Regions from separate parts of the Homo sapiens genome. Here region 1 is linked to region 2. The links are contacts of gene promoters, found by promoter capture Hi-C in human tissues and cell types (Jung and others, 2019). All regions are on one chromosome and are shown on one strand. The core of a region is centred on a gene start or on the middle of the fragment in contact, and the rest is flanking DNA. Distances in the headings are between cores, read along the strand shown.

Region 1 (5,987 bases), core at 37-2,536, 35 kb before region 2:
CGAGAAAGAGATCTGCAAGTACAATATGAATTTAGAGAAGTGAGAGACCAAACTTTACAGAGAAGGGGACATCTGAAATTTAAAGATGGGTATAAGCTCTTCAGTAAAGATGGAAATGAGCCATTCCAGGTGGAGGGAAAGCAGGAGAGACAGCACAGAGGGGAAGGAAGAGTGGATGCTCACGACAGAATCCAGTGTGACTGGAACAAAGGGTATTTTGAAAGAATAGCCTGCAATGGAGGGTCTGGGAGGTGCAGGGGAGATTTTCATCTTTAGGGTCTTAGTCCTCCCTTTCTCATCTTTAGAGTCTGATAATTGGCCCTCCCTTCAACATGCATATGCTTCCCTGACCCATCTTTAGGATCATACTTGCAAAAACAGTTCAAGATTAACCACAGCAATTCATTTATTCCACAATCTTTTACCAAAACCCTAAGACACGTGAGGCACTGTGCAAGCATAGGAAATACAGCCAGGGATGAGATAGGTAAGTTCCAGAGCACTGGACAAACAATCAGTAAAGTGAGACGGTAGAAAGAACATAGGAACAGGAAAGTCCTGGGTGCAAATATACGTCGTGTGTCATGAACAAAATATTTCATATCTCTGAGCCCTGGTTTCTACCTCCCTGATGGGGATAATTATACTTATTCCACGGGGTTATTGTAGAAATTAACCTGTGGGGAAAGAGCTTCATACTGTGTTGGGCACACTGTAAGCATTCGTTACCCATGTATTCTTTGTTCAGCCATAAAGAGAGGCGCCTGGAATACCAAATCTCCAGGGTCCCTTTCAGCTCTGATATTTTGCTTGGGCAGTTCTAAGACTCTGCGGCACCTGTAACTGTGCCCACTGACCAGGGTCCTGGCACATCCCAAGGAGTGACGCTCCATCCCTCCCTGAGCAAGAAGCTTCTACCAGGGTGGCCTGAGATGAGGCCAATGGATCAGGCAGGCATTAATCAGGTGGCCGCCCTCCTTGGCTGTGGCGCCGGCAGGCCAGGCAGCGTTCTGGCTGCCTAGCTTCCCCGATCGGCTTCCACACCACTCCACAGACCCGTTGCCATGACAGTGAACCCCAAGGGGCACCCAGGAGTGGCCAGAGCTGGAGAGGAAGGGTTCCATTGATCGAAATCCATCTGACTCAGCCTTGGTTGATTTCAGGATCCTGGAGTGAGAACAAACAACAATTTAAATCTACTGAATGCTTTTTTCAATGCCAGACAACATATTAAGTGTGTTTTTCCGATTCTCTCATTTCATACTCACAATGGTAACGTGAAATAGGGATCCTCATTCCCACTTAACAGAATGAGAAACTGGGGATCAGAGAAGAAAATACCGATGTCACCCACATAGTAAGTGGTAAGGCCAGGACACAACTGTGCCCCCCAGCTCCAGCCCCAGGGATGTATCATTCCAAAGACCCTGTGCTTTTCCACAAACCACAGTCTTCCGAGCCACCTGAGCCTCCAGGAAAGTTGATGCCACTTTCCCCACTTGCCTGAATGTTCCTGAGGGGCCAAGGGGGACAGGTGCAGAGAGCTAGGTCTCTGAGTGATTCCTCAGAGACAAGGCCAGGTCACCCAGATGATGGGCTACTCAGACAGCTGCCAAAAATATGTTCTGGGATTTTCCAATGTAATCCCAATTTCAAATATTCTGCTTGTTTTTCTAAAGAATGAAAATTCCAACATACTGCCACCAAACTAATACGTCTCTCAAATGAGCTGTTGTTCATCTGGAAACAGCACAATATTTGACAACATCTGTCAGACCCCGTCACAACATTTGGTTCTAAAGAGCACGGTCCCTGTATTTTGATGCAAGGTAGCAATGTGCAAGCTCTGGCCTTAGATTTAGGGCTCTGACCTGCCAGAAGGAGGATATCCAGAAACCAGAGGACATCAACCCTTTTTCTAACCTCAGCAGCTGGGGAATTTGCCGAAAGAACAGCTTGGCATTCCTTCCCTGCCTTTCACCCCCCTTCCCATGGCTACTGAACTATTGAGCCCAAACTCTGGGAACCCATGACATGGGAAAATCCAGCTGGCTTCTGTAGCCCCAGACATCTGGATTCCCTAACCCCAGGCAGCCAGCTGAGTGAGGAGGCAGCAACACAAGGATGCTTGGGAAAGCCTTCGGAGGGACGTCTGCCAAGTCATCTCCCTCCTGAACAAACACATGTCCCACTATCTAGGGGTCAGCAGAGCCATGTTTATATGTGCTTAGGCCATTCAACTGATTAATTAATTAGCTCCCTGGGTGGCCTTTGGCCACTAAAGCTTCATCCCTTGAGGCCTCAGTTTTCTTATCTATAAAATGTTAGAATTAGGCAAGTTGATGTCTAAGGTTACTTCCTGCCCTACGATTTCAGCTTTCTACCATAAAAGAACAGGATGAGCATGGACAGGATTTGGCTCTAATACTGTCCCTGCTCTGCCAGCATGGGAAAGTCCCTTCCCATTTCTAAGCCTCAGTTTCCTTGGGGAGTTAAATGAGGGGCGGACTAGATGATCTCTCAGTCCAGAGCTCTGTTATCTCAGAAACTGGAACACATCTTGACATGCCCTCTCCCTGATCACCTGCATGCACTGTAACCCAGCAGACCCCATCTCGACAGCTCCATTGCCACCTACTCAATCAGGCTGCCTGCTCTCACCTGGACCACTGCAATAGCCTCCTAACTGGTCAAGCAACATCTGCCGCCCCTCCCTCATCTCTATGCTGGAGACTACCAGTGTGAAGTTTCTTTTCAAAACACAAATCAGCTAGGCACAATGGCTCACGCCTGTAATCAATCCCAGAACTTTGAGAGGCTGAAGCAGGAGGATTACTTGAGCGTAGGAGTTTGAGACCACCCGGGACAACATAGCAAGATCCCAGCTCTACCAAAAAAAAAAAATTTAAATTATCCAGGCATGGGGGCGTTTGTGTGTAGTCCCAGCTACTCAAGAGGCTGAGGCAGGAAGATGACTTGAGCCCAGGAGGTCAGGGCTGCAGTGAGCCATGCTCATGCCACTGCACTCCAGCCTGAGCAACAGAGTGAGACCCTGTCTCAAAAAAAAAAAAAAAATATATATATATATATATATAAGATCATGTTAGCCTGCTGCTTGTATGGAGTTCCATTGCAATTAGGGTAAACAATAGTGCAGCTTGTGAGACCCTCACGGCTAACCCAGCCCACCCCTCAGCACCATGTCTCACCACCCTCCCTTCCTCAATGTACACAAGTCCCTTGGCCTTTCGCTTCCTTAATAGACAAGCCTCCCAAGCCTCAATCTTTGTTCATGCAATTTCTTTGCCTAGAATGCTGATCTGCTTCCTCTCTATCCCACTCCCTTCTTCAACTTGTCCATTTCTTCCCTTCCTTTAGATTTCACCTCAGGCATCTCTGCTTAGAAATCCTCCTGGGAACTCACCAGGCTAGCTCAGATTCCCTGGGTAGACTTTCCCATAAGACCATTGCCTTCCCTACAGAGCATTCCTGTCCATTTCTGAGTGCGTTCAGGGATGACATTGCTTTCTCTCATTCCTACTCATCCCATAGTCTACACTCAATAAACCTTTTCAAGATGAGGGACTGGATGTTCTGCCCTTAGGAAGCTCCTAAGAAGAGGATGGCACCTTTTCCAAAAGCCCTGGCAGAGACCAAGACTAAAACAGATCTGATCTAAGACTGTCAGGCTCCCGAGGAGACATCCTGCTGACTGCTGGAAAGCTCTGCCCAAGGCAAGCTTGAGACTTAGCCAATTGCTATGGCTATGCTCAGAGTTCATTCCAGCAGAGGGTGCTCAGAAGTCCACCCTAGAGCGCTCTGAGCTGGCTGCCCTCCCAGCCAGCAGGCAGCCCGGGGCAATGGCTCCAGAGCATCAGATTAGGAGGAGAGCTGAAGTCTGTACTGTGGAAAGACAAGATGACTAGATAGATTCTTCTTTGGAAATGTCTTAAAGTGCCTTTTCCCCCACCTTCTCCACCCACTGACTTGCACAGATCATTCAAGTGTAAATGGGCCTCCTCCTTCAGGAAGCCTTCCTGTATCACCCCTGCTGGACTAAGGTTCCTAAATCTGCATTTCTATGCCTCCTGGGCATCCCACTAGCATTGTATACTACTACACTGAGAGAATGTGTTTCCACACCTGTCTCCTCAGCCAGAATAGCCTTCTTCATCTCCTATCACCAGCATCCAGTGCCTAGAACACAACTATCACTTGGGAAGACTCTATCATTTTATAGATGAGGAAACCAAGATCCAGGAGAAAGAATGATTTGTCCCCCAGGGTCACACAAGTCACTCACTGGCAGGGCCAGGAATCTAACCCACGTCTACCACTTCAAGCTGACACCTTTCCCTGTTGCATCCCTGCCTTCAGGAAGGGATGGGAATGAATTTGCGATAGGATTCATTTATGATCCTGTGGACAAGAGCCTCCAATGACTCTCCGGGGATGCCTAATCACCCCTTTATAAGAAAGGCTCCAAGAGCAAGATGCCGGACTCTCCCATGGGGAGAGCACCTGTAGCCTGTTGTGTTGCCTGCCCACCAGCTGGAGAGGCTGACCCTACTCAGTACTGAGATTAATGAAGAATCCAACCTCAGTTCCAGCAGGAGGTGAGCACACGATGGCAATCCCTCCCTTCTCTGCACGCAGAAAGTTCATCTTCCAGGAAATGGAGAGTTATGGTTCCTTCCCACCCCCTACCCCCAGTTGATGCTTTCTGAGAGTCAACCAGCATTTATTAAATGTGCCGTCTCATTCGGTCATTCAACCCCAGACCATAAGTTTCTTGAAGTCAGGAAAGTATCTTAAGTTTGGATCACAGAATATATTGTTCTAAAGGGCCTTTAGGATTCACCAGGTTCCAGCTTCTCTGTTTACACCTAGGAAATGGGGTCCAGAGGGTGAAAGAGACTTGCCATGTGAATGACTGCAGAGCCAAGGTCTGGGTCCTGCTCCCTGGTGTCCCACACTGATCTCTCTGCTCCATGTCTCTGGACTCTGGCCCTGACAAGAAGCCTCCTTGGATCCTTCCAGGCCTGAGAGCAGAGCAGGTCCCTGTGAAGGTGTGTCTGTCCGTTGATGGGAGAGAGCATGTCAAGATTCAAACTGCAAATCTGATCGCCTCACTTCTCTGTTGAAGGACTGCAGTGGCTTCACCCCACCCTCATATGAAGTTCATCCTTCAGGATGGGTCCTCCGAGACCCTGACCCCGATGTCGTCTCCAGACACGGCCCTGTCACTCTGAGCCACAGTCCCTCACTTGGCACTTCCCAGCTCCTCCCTTACCTTACCAGCTCACTCAGGGCTGTTTCCCACCTCTTCACTTGGCCAACTCCTGCTCTTCCTTCAGCTGAATGCCCAGCCTCCTCCTCTATGAAGCCTTCCCTCATGTTATCCCACCCCACACACAACCTCCAAAGCACCCTGGACTTTTGGATTTCCATTCAGCTCACTGTGCTTGCTTATCCTCTCTCTCTCTCCTCCACCCAACCACAGACTCCCCTGGCCTGGGACAGTCTCTCTCTCCCCATCATCAATGTACTTGCACAGTCAGGCTCTGTCATCAGCACTCAGAGGATGTTCGACAAATATTGTAGGGGTGTTTGATTGACAAGTGGAGACCACTCCCCTTTATGTGTCCTGCTCCTTGACTCAGTGGAACCACAGAGGCCACTGAGAATGGACCCAGAAGATAGTTCCTGCTAAGGCAGGGGCAGTGATAGAACAGGAGCAGCTCATGGAGAAGCCTCTAACCATCTGCCCCACAGGAGTGTCTGTCCAAGACAGCTGATGTTCCAGTCTCCATATCAGTCCAGGATGCATGTGGAGGGGGAAGTCTTCATCTCCCTCTGATCCCCGGCTGCTACTTCCTGAACCTTCTTAGGGCTAAGGGGCTGGCAGGCAGGCGGGCGGTGGGGCTGCCACACGCTCCCACTCCTAGCACATATCCTGTCGCTACCTCTTCTGGCAGGATGTTATT
Region 2 (5,954 bases), core at 1-2,500:
GGAGGTGCCTGCGCACCTGCTCTGGCCACAGCAGAGCATGGAGGTGCAGGCCTGGCGGAAGCGGGGGTCGAAAAAGGCATAGAGGAAGGGGTTGAGGCAGCTGTTGACGTAGCTGATGCAGGTGCAGTAGGGGAAGATGTTCATGAGGAAGAGGTCAAAGTCACAGGGCCAGTGCAGCAGGCTGCCCAGCATGTACAGCGTCTTCACCAGGTGGTAGGGCATCCAGCACAGGGCAAAGGTCACCACCAGCACCACGATGATGCTGAGCAGCCGGCGCCGCTTCCGCAGGCCCTCGATGCGTTCCTTGCGGAAGTGGCCAGCGATGGTTTGGGCGATGAAGAAGTAACAGGTCAGCATGATGGTGAAGGGCACCACAAAGCCCACGGTGGTGGACGAGACCCCAAGGCCCACCTCCCAGGCCCACTCTGAGCTCACAGTGGCCACCATGGAGTAGTCCATGTAGCACTGCACCTTAGTGGTGTTCTCCAAGTCCCCGGTGGTGCGTAACACCATGACAGGCATGGCCAGGAGGGCGGCCAGCACCCAAAGAACTGCCGTGGCCACGGCCCCGCTGACCCGCAGCCTCAGCCGAGCATTGGCCACTGGCCTCACGATGGCCAGGTAGCGGTCGAAGCTGAGGCCGGTGAGGCAGAAGACGCTGGCGTACATGTTGACGAAGATGAGGTAGCTGCTGAGCTTGCAGAAGAAGGTCCCAAAGGGCCAGTCATAGTCCCGGTACGTGTAGGTAGCCCACAGGGGCAGCGTCACCACGAAGGTCAGGTCAGCCACCGCCAGGCTAGCAATGAAGATATCAGCTGAGCGCCTCTTCTCCCGGCTGCTCCGAAACACGGTCCAGAGCACCAGACCGTTGCCCGTGGTGCCCAGGAGGAAGACCAACATGTAGATGGCAGGGATGAGGGCCCCCGAGGATTTCCAGTCTGTGTACTCACACTCAGACTGGTTGTCTGCCCCATAGTAGTTGTCAAAATCACCACCTTCCTCCATGCTGGGGAGTGGAGAGAAGACGGGCAGAGGGTCCCAGGGACACCAGCTCCGTGGCTCTGTCACCCACTCTGCAAGCAGCCTGAATTTCTGGCTTGAGCCTCAGAGAGTAAGAAGGGCTGAAGATGCCCAGAGTCCTTCCCAGCACTCAGGAGGAGCTGCCTCTGGGTTCTCCAGACCCTGGAGGAAGCCTGTCTCCTGCAGAATTTCCTCCACCCTCTCTTGCCTTACCCCCGTCTCAGTTAAGACACTTCCTTGCACCCTCCTGCGTCCCTGTCTCCTCCTTGACTCGTCACTCCCTCCTCCCACCTCCAGACCAGCCCCTCTCTTGTGAGTCAAAATCTTTAGTGACAGCCCACTTTTTTTTTCTTTTTGTCACTGAGCAAGTGGACCAAATTGACCCCTACTGTGCTGGGCTGAACATTATCTGTGGTTTTGCAAGTCGGCTTTCCTGGCCCCGCCTCTCCTTTCTGGCTGCCACCCACCTTCACCCCAGCCCCTATCCCTCCACTTTCCTCTGGCCACCACTTCCTGCCTGCCCTTTAGGGCACTCCCTCCTCAGTGCTCTCCGCCCTCCTGTTCTCACCCCCTTCCATCCAATCTAAATGGGACACATTATGCAGATTGCAATCCAGCTTGAGCTGGAGCCAGGGCTGGTAGGGAGCAAGGAGGGTGTAAGATTTCGCAGGATGGGCAGGGCATCTGGCAGGTCCTCCTGGCAGGCAGGTCTGGCCCCCTCGGCTCCCTTCCTGCACCCCCAGCCCCCACCCAGACCAGGTGTCACAGGAGGGTCTTCTCCCACTTTGCCTCTCGCTTCATCTTTCTCTACCCCTTGGCTTTGACCCTCCCTCTGAGAACTTTTGTGGTTTCTAGAGAAATACCCCTACACTAGTGTAGACTGCAGTTTGCAGTTTGCGGAAGGCACAGGATGCTTTAGAAGGTTGAGGGCAGTCACAGGATGGAAGAAACCCAGGACAAAATTATCTCTAAACAAGTCATTAAATCTGTAGGAAACAAAGGCCCAACAAGGTCAATGTTTTGCCCAAGGTAATAAAGTGAATTATGCTACAGTTGATTGTTTGCTTTTCTTCTTCTCCAAACACGAACATAATACAGTACCTGGCATGTCGTAGGTGAATGGCTGTTTTGTTTGTTTGTTTGTTTGTTGAGACAGAGTTTCACTCTTGTTGCCCAGGCTGGTCTAGGCTCACTGCAACTTCTGCCTCCTGGGTTCAAGCGATTCTCCCGCCTCAGCCTCCCTAGTAGCTGGGATTGCAGGCTAATTTTTTTGTATTTTTAGTAGAGATGGGGATTGACCAGGCTAGTCTCAAACTCCTGACCTCAGATGATCCACCCACCTCGGCCTCCCAAAGTGCTGAAATTACAGGCATGAGCCACCACGCCCAGCCAGGTGAATGGCTGTTGAGTGAGTAAGTGGATGGATGATGTAGGAGGTGAGTGAAAAGGGGAATCCATAGATGGAAGAACAAGTGTAAGAATTACTACGTGGTGAGAACATGGATACATTTCAGTTCTCAGGTTTTTACTATCCTCCATGGACCAAGAGGTTTCTGTAAGACCACAGGGGGTCAGGAAGTTGAGCTAGAGGAGGGGGGTCTCTAGAGAAAGACTCAGTCACTGGAGGATACTGTGGGGAAAGTTCCGTAGACGCTCACTTTGCCCCAGCTCATCACCTCTCCAGGACCTCTAGGAAGGAAGGAAGATGCACGACGTAAGATTTTTTTTAAAAAATACGCACCCTTTCCACAACCTTGAAGAGTTGGGGAAGCCACCTGACGTTGGGTAATAGTGAGATGGAACAAAAGCAGGAGCTGAGCCTTAGCCACTTCCAAGGCAAAAGACTTACAAAAGCTGGAATTGGCCAGGCAAGGTGGCTCATGCCTATAATCCCAGCACTTTGGGAGGCCAAGGCAGGAAGACTGCTTGAGCCCAGGAGTTCAAGACTAGCCTGAATAACACAGCCAAGACCCTGTCTCACGATATATATTTGTCTTAAGTTACTACAAAAGCTGGAATCCATTTTCTGGAGGGAGAGTGGATCAGAAAATCATATGCAGAGATCAAGGAACTCAAACTCAAATACCTGCAAAAAAAAAAAAAAAAAACAGGCCAAGAGTGTAGTTTGAGACAACAGAGAATGGTAAAGACTGTGGCAAACTGGAGGGTGCCCATTCCATCATAGGGAGGCCTCTTCAGCTCTAGTCTCTGGTTGCCACGCAGAAAGCTGGACCCCAGCATGACTGTGTCTTAGGATTTTTCCAAGATAATTTCAAATTATGGATTTTTGTAAGAAATTTTCATATTTGTAAATTTTGGAAATCAATTTTCATTTCAAAAAAAAGCACAGACCATGATAAGTAAAACATGTCTTTGGCCCCCGAGTTTGTGTTCTTTAAACAGGAGCTTGCCAAGAATAGAAGGCAGGAGAAGAACCAAGAGGATGGGGCAGGAGGAGGAAACAAAAAATGCAAAGATAGAAAAAGCCTTAGAGTGCAGTGGGGAGATACAGGAGAGAAGGCTGCAGAGAGAGATTAGAAAGATCCTGTGACCTTCACCTAAATGCAATGTGGAGTAATGAATATGTTGGTGTTTCTCATGAGGACTACATGTTGCCCACTTATTGTGTGCCAGGCAGTCTTCTAAACATTTTATACATTCTACATATATTTATTAGTATCTCTTTTAATCATCAAAATGACATTAGGAGGCAGGTGCTCTCATTAGCCTCAATTTACAGATGAGGAAACTGAGGCACACAGAGGTGAAGCAGTTTAGCCAAGATCACCCAGCAGTAATTGTCAGAGCCAGAATTTGAACCAAAGCTGTCTCGAGCCCATGGACTAAACCACTATGCTCCCAAAGAAAAACGCCCAATCCTTTTTAAACTGAGGGGTGTGTCATCTGTTAAGCATTAGAGAAATGTAGGGCGATGCCAGGATACCTGTAATTTACCTTAAAATAAGCTCTACCGGGTGAGATTTTAAATAGATTGACTATTTAGAGACACACCTCACATTGATTAGACAGGGTATAAGAATCCTGCCAGGCAATAATCTGTACACTTAGGGTTAGCACCATAGACTTGATCCAGAAACCACCCTCGCTCTAGCCATTGCCAAAGAGAATTCCTGGTTGCCTGGTGCCAGCTAGAAAGCTAACAGGACTCTGCCCCTGGAATCTTGGCATTCTGTACAGTGGGGGCTGGGACACCCAATAGGATCCAGAGCTGGGGCTCCATCCATCTCACAGTACACAGGGTAGGAATTGCTTGGGGCCTCTTGCTCCTGCATTTTTGGCTAATAGAAGTTCTGCGCAGATGGCAGAATGGTTTTCATTATATCCTGACATTCATTCATCATATCATGATTCATTCATCATATCCTGATATAATAGTTTCATTATATCCTGACATTATATCCTGGGTGGAAATAGCTAACCTTTGGCTACCTCAGACTTCTTCAGTGGTAAGCTATCTTTACCTATCAAAGGGGACCTTGGAGTTGTGCAGGGACCAGCTTGGCTCAGGTCAGGTCATAATAGATGGCCCTTTTACGAGTAAACATTACTGCTTGGGACATTCCAGGATAAAGACCAAGTTTGAGACGCCTAGTGATCCCAGTTCTCCCATGATTCTCCCAGAAAGATGCAGATGTCTGTGCCCTTTGCAGCTAGAAATACAGAGAGAAGGGAGCTAGCAAGCTTGAAGCGTCCCTGAAATCAGGTCCCTGTCTCCCTCCCCTCAGCTGTTCCCACTGGAATGCTGAGCCAGACAGGAGCCTGGAGACCCCTGTGGGAAAGGATATGGATCCATCGCTTTCATCTGCCGACCTCCAGGATGTCTGCCCTAGAGGGAGTAAAGAGCAGTTAATCTCACTAGAGTTACCAGACTCATTGAGAGGGGAGGGAATTGGGGGCCAGGGCTGGGAAGAGGCCACCGTTTGGGACCAGAGAGGGTAGAGTGCTGATAAGATCCGGCCTCCAACCAGGAGCCAGCTGTAGCCAGATGGCCTGAGTGCCCCCTGCAATGACAGCCTGAAGTGAGCAGAATTAGCCAGCTCACTCCTTATCCTGCCTGATCTGATCTGTCCCTGTTCCGCATTGCACCATTCCACACAGAAGAAAGACTGGAAAATAGGACCAGTAGCTGAAGATGAAACTTGTGTGTCCCGGGGCTCAGAAGTATATGGGTCCTGGGCCTCACAGACTAGACATATACAAGGCCTGGGACAGATATCTTCTTTTCATTTCTGCCCCCCACCCTACTTGGCACCTGGTAAAAGTCTGTTGAATTAAAGCAATAGAAACACACTCAGGAGAAGGGTGTAAGACTTGGATCTTCACCCCAGAGCTGCTCTACTGCATTAACAAGGCAACTTTTGCTAAAGTGATCCAGGAAATTCTACTCTGAGCTATCTGGCAAACCAATAGCTAAGGCAAGCCTGTTGGCCAGGGTGCCCAGAGCTGGCCTGCCCTGGAGAGGCCTGCACAGGTTTCCTGGGGAACTTCCCTCTCTCTCCTGGGTGATTTCTTCAGGGCATTGTGATGAGACCGAGATGAATGACACCTGGCAGAAAAGCACTCCAGACCTGCTAGTGCCCTTTGAGGAGAGCCCAGACTTCTGGGAGACCTCTGGAGTCAGTGGTTCAATATTCCTCACCCACCCCACCACCAGGTTTGTGCCTGGCCTAAAAAGCAGAGCCTGACTTGGCCTGTGCCCATGGACATGCTGACTATGTGTGCTTTGTGAATGCAAGTTTTCTGTGTGCCACGAGGTCACTTGGATGTGAAGTCTGTAGGTGCTTGTGAGCAGGCTGAACTTGTGTGTGCAGGGGGATATGAGTGTGCACTGGGTGCATGCATTCATGGATGTAGAATAGTGTGCTTGCTTGTGCATAGTGAGGTAGGATGTGCATTGGGTGCATGCATTCATG

The links. Contacts are between HindIII fragments. The study calls those that stand out against the background at their distance.
Region 1: a contact is called between a fragment that was not itself captured here and the fragment with the promoter of APLNR in region 2, in 2 of the 25 tissues and cell types used here (H1 embryonic stem cells and hippocampus).

The regions. Positions count from the first base shown.
Region 1 is chr11:57,201,451-57,207,437 of GRCh38, forward strand. The region is part of intron 2 of LOC105369309 (a long non-coding RNA gene); the gene reads right to left. Among named protein-coding and RNA genes, the nearest start is that of LRRC55, 22 kb to the left of the region's middle. RefSeq lists a silencer at 3,665-3,959. The HindIII fragment of the contact is 3,449 bases long and covers 1-3,011 here.
Region 2 is chr11:57,236,000-57,241,953 of GRCh38, forward strand. It overlaps APLNR (apelin receptor), which reads right to left and starts at 1,251. Exons shown (of 1, transcript NM_005161.6): 1 at 1-1,251. The coding sequence starts at 1,005. RefSeq lists enhancers at 893-1,525, 4,567-5,333. The HindIII fragment of the contact is 13,017 bases long and covers 1-5,954 here.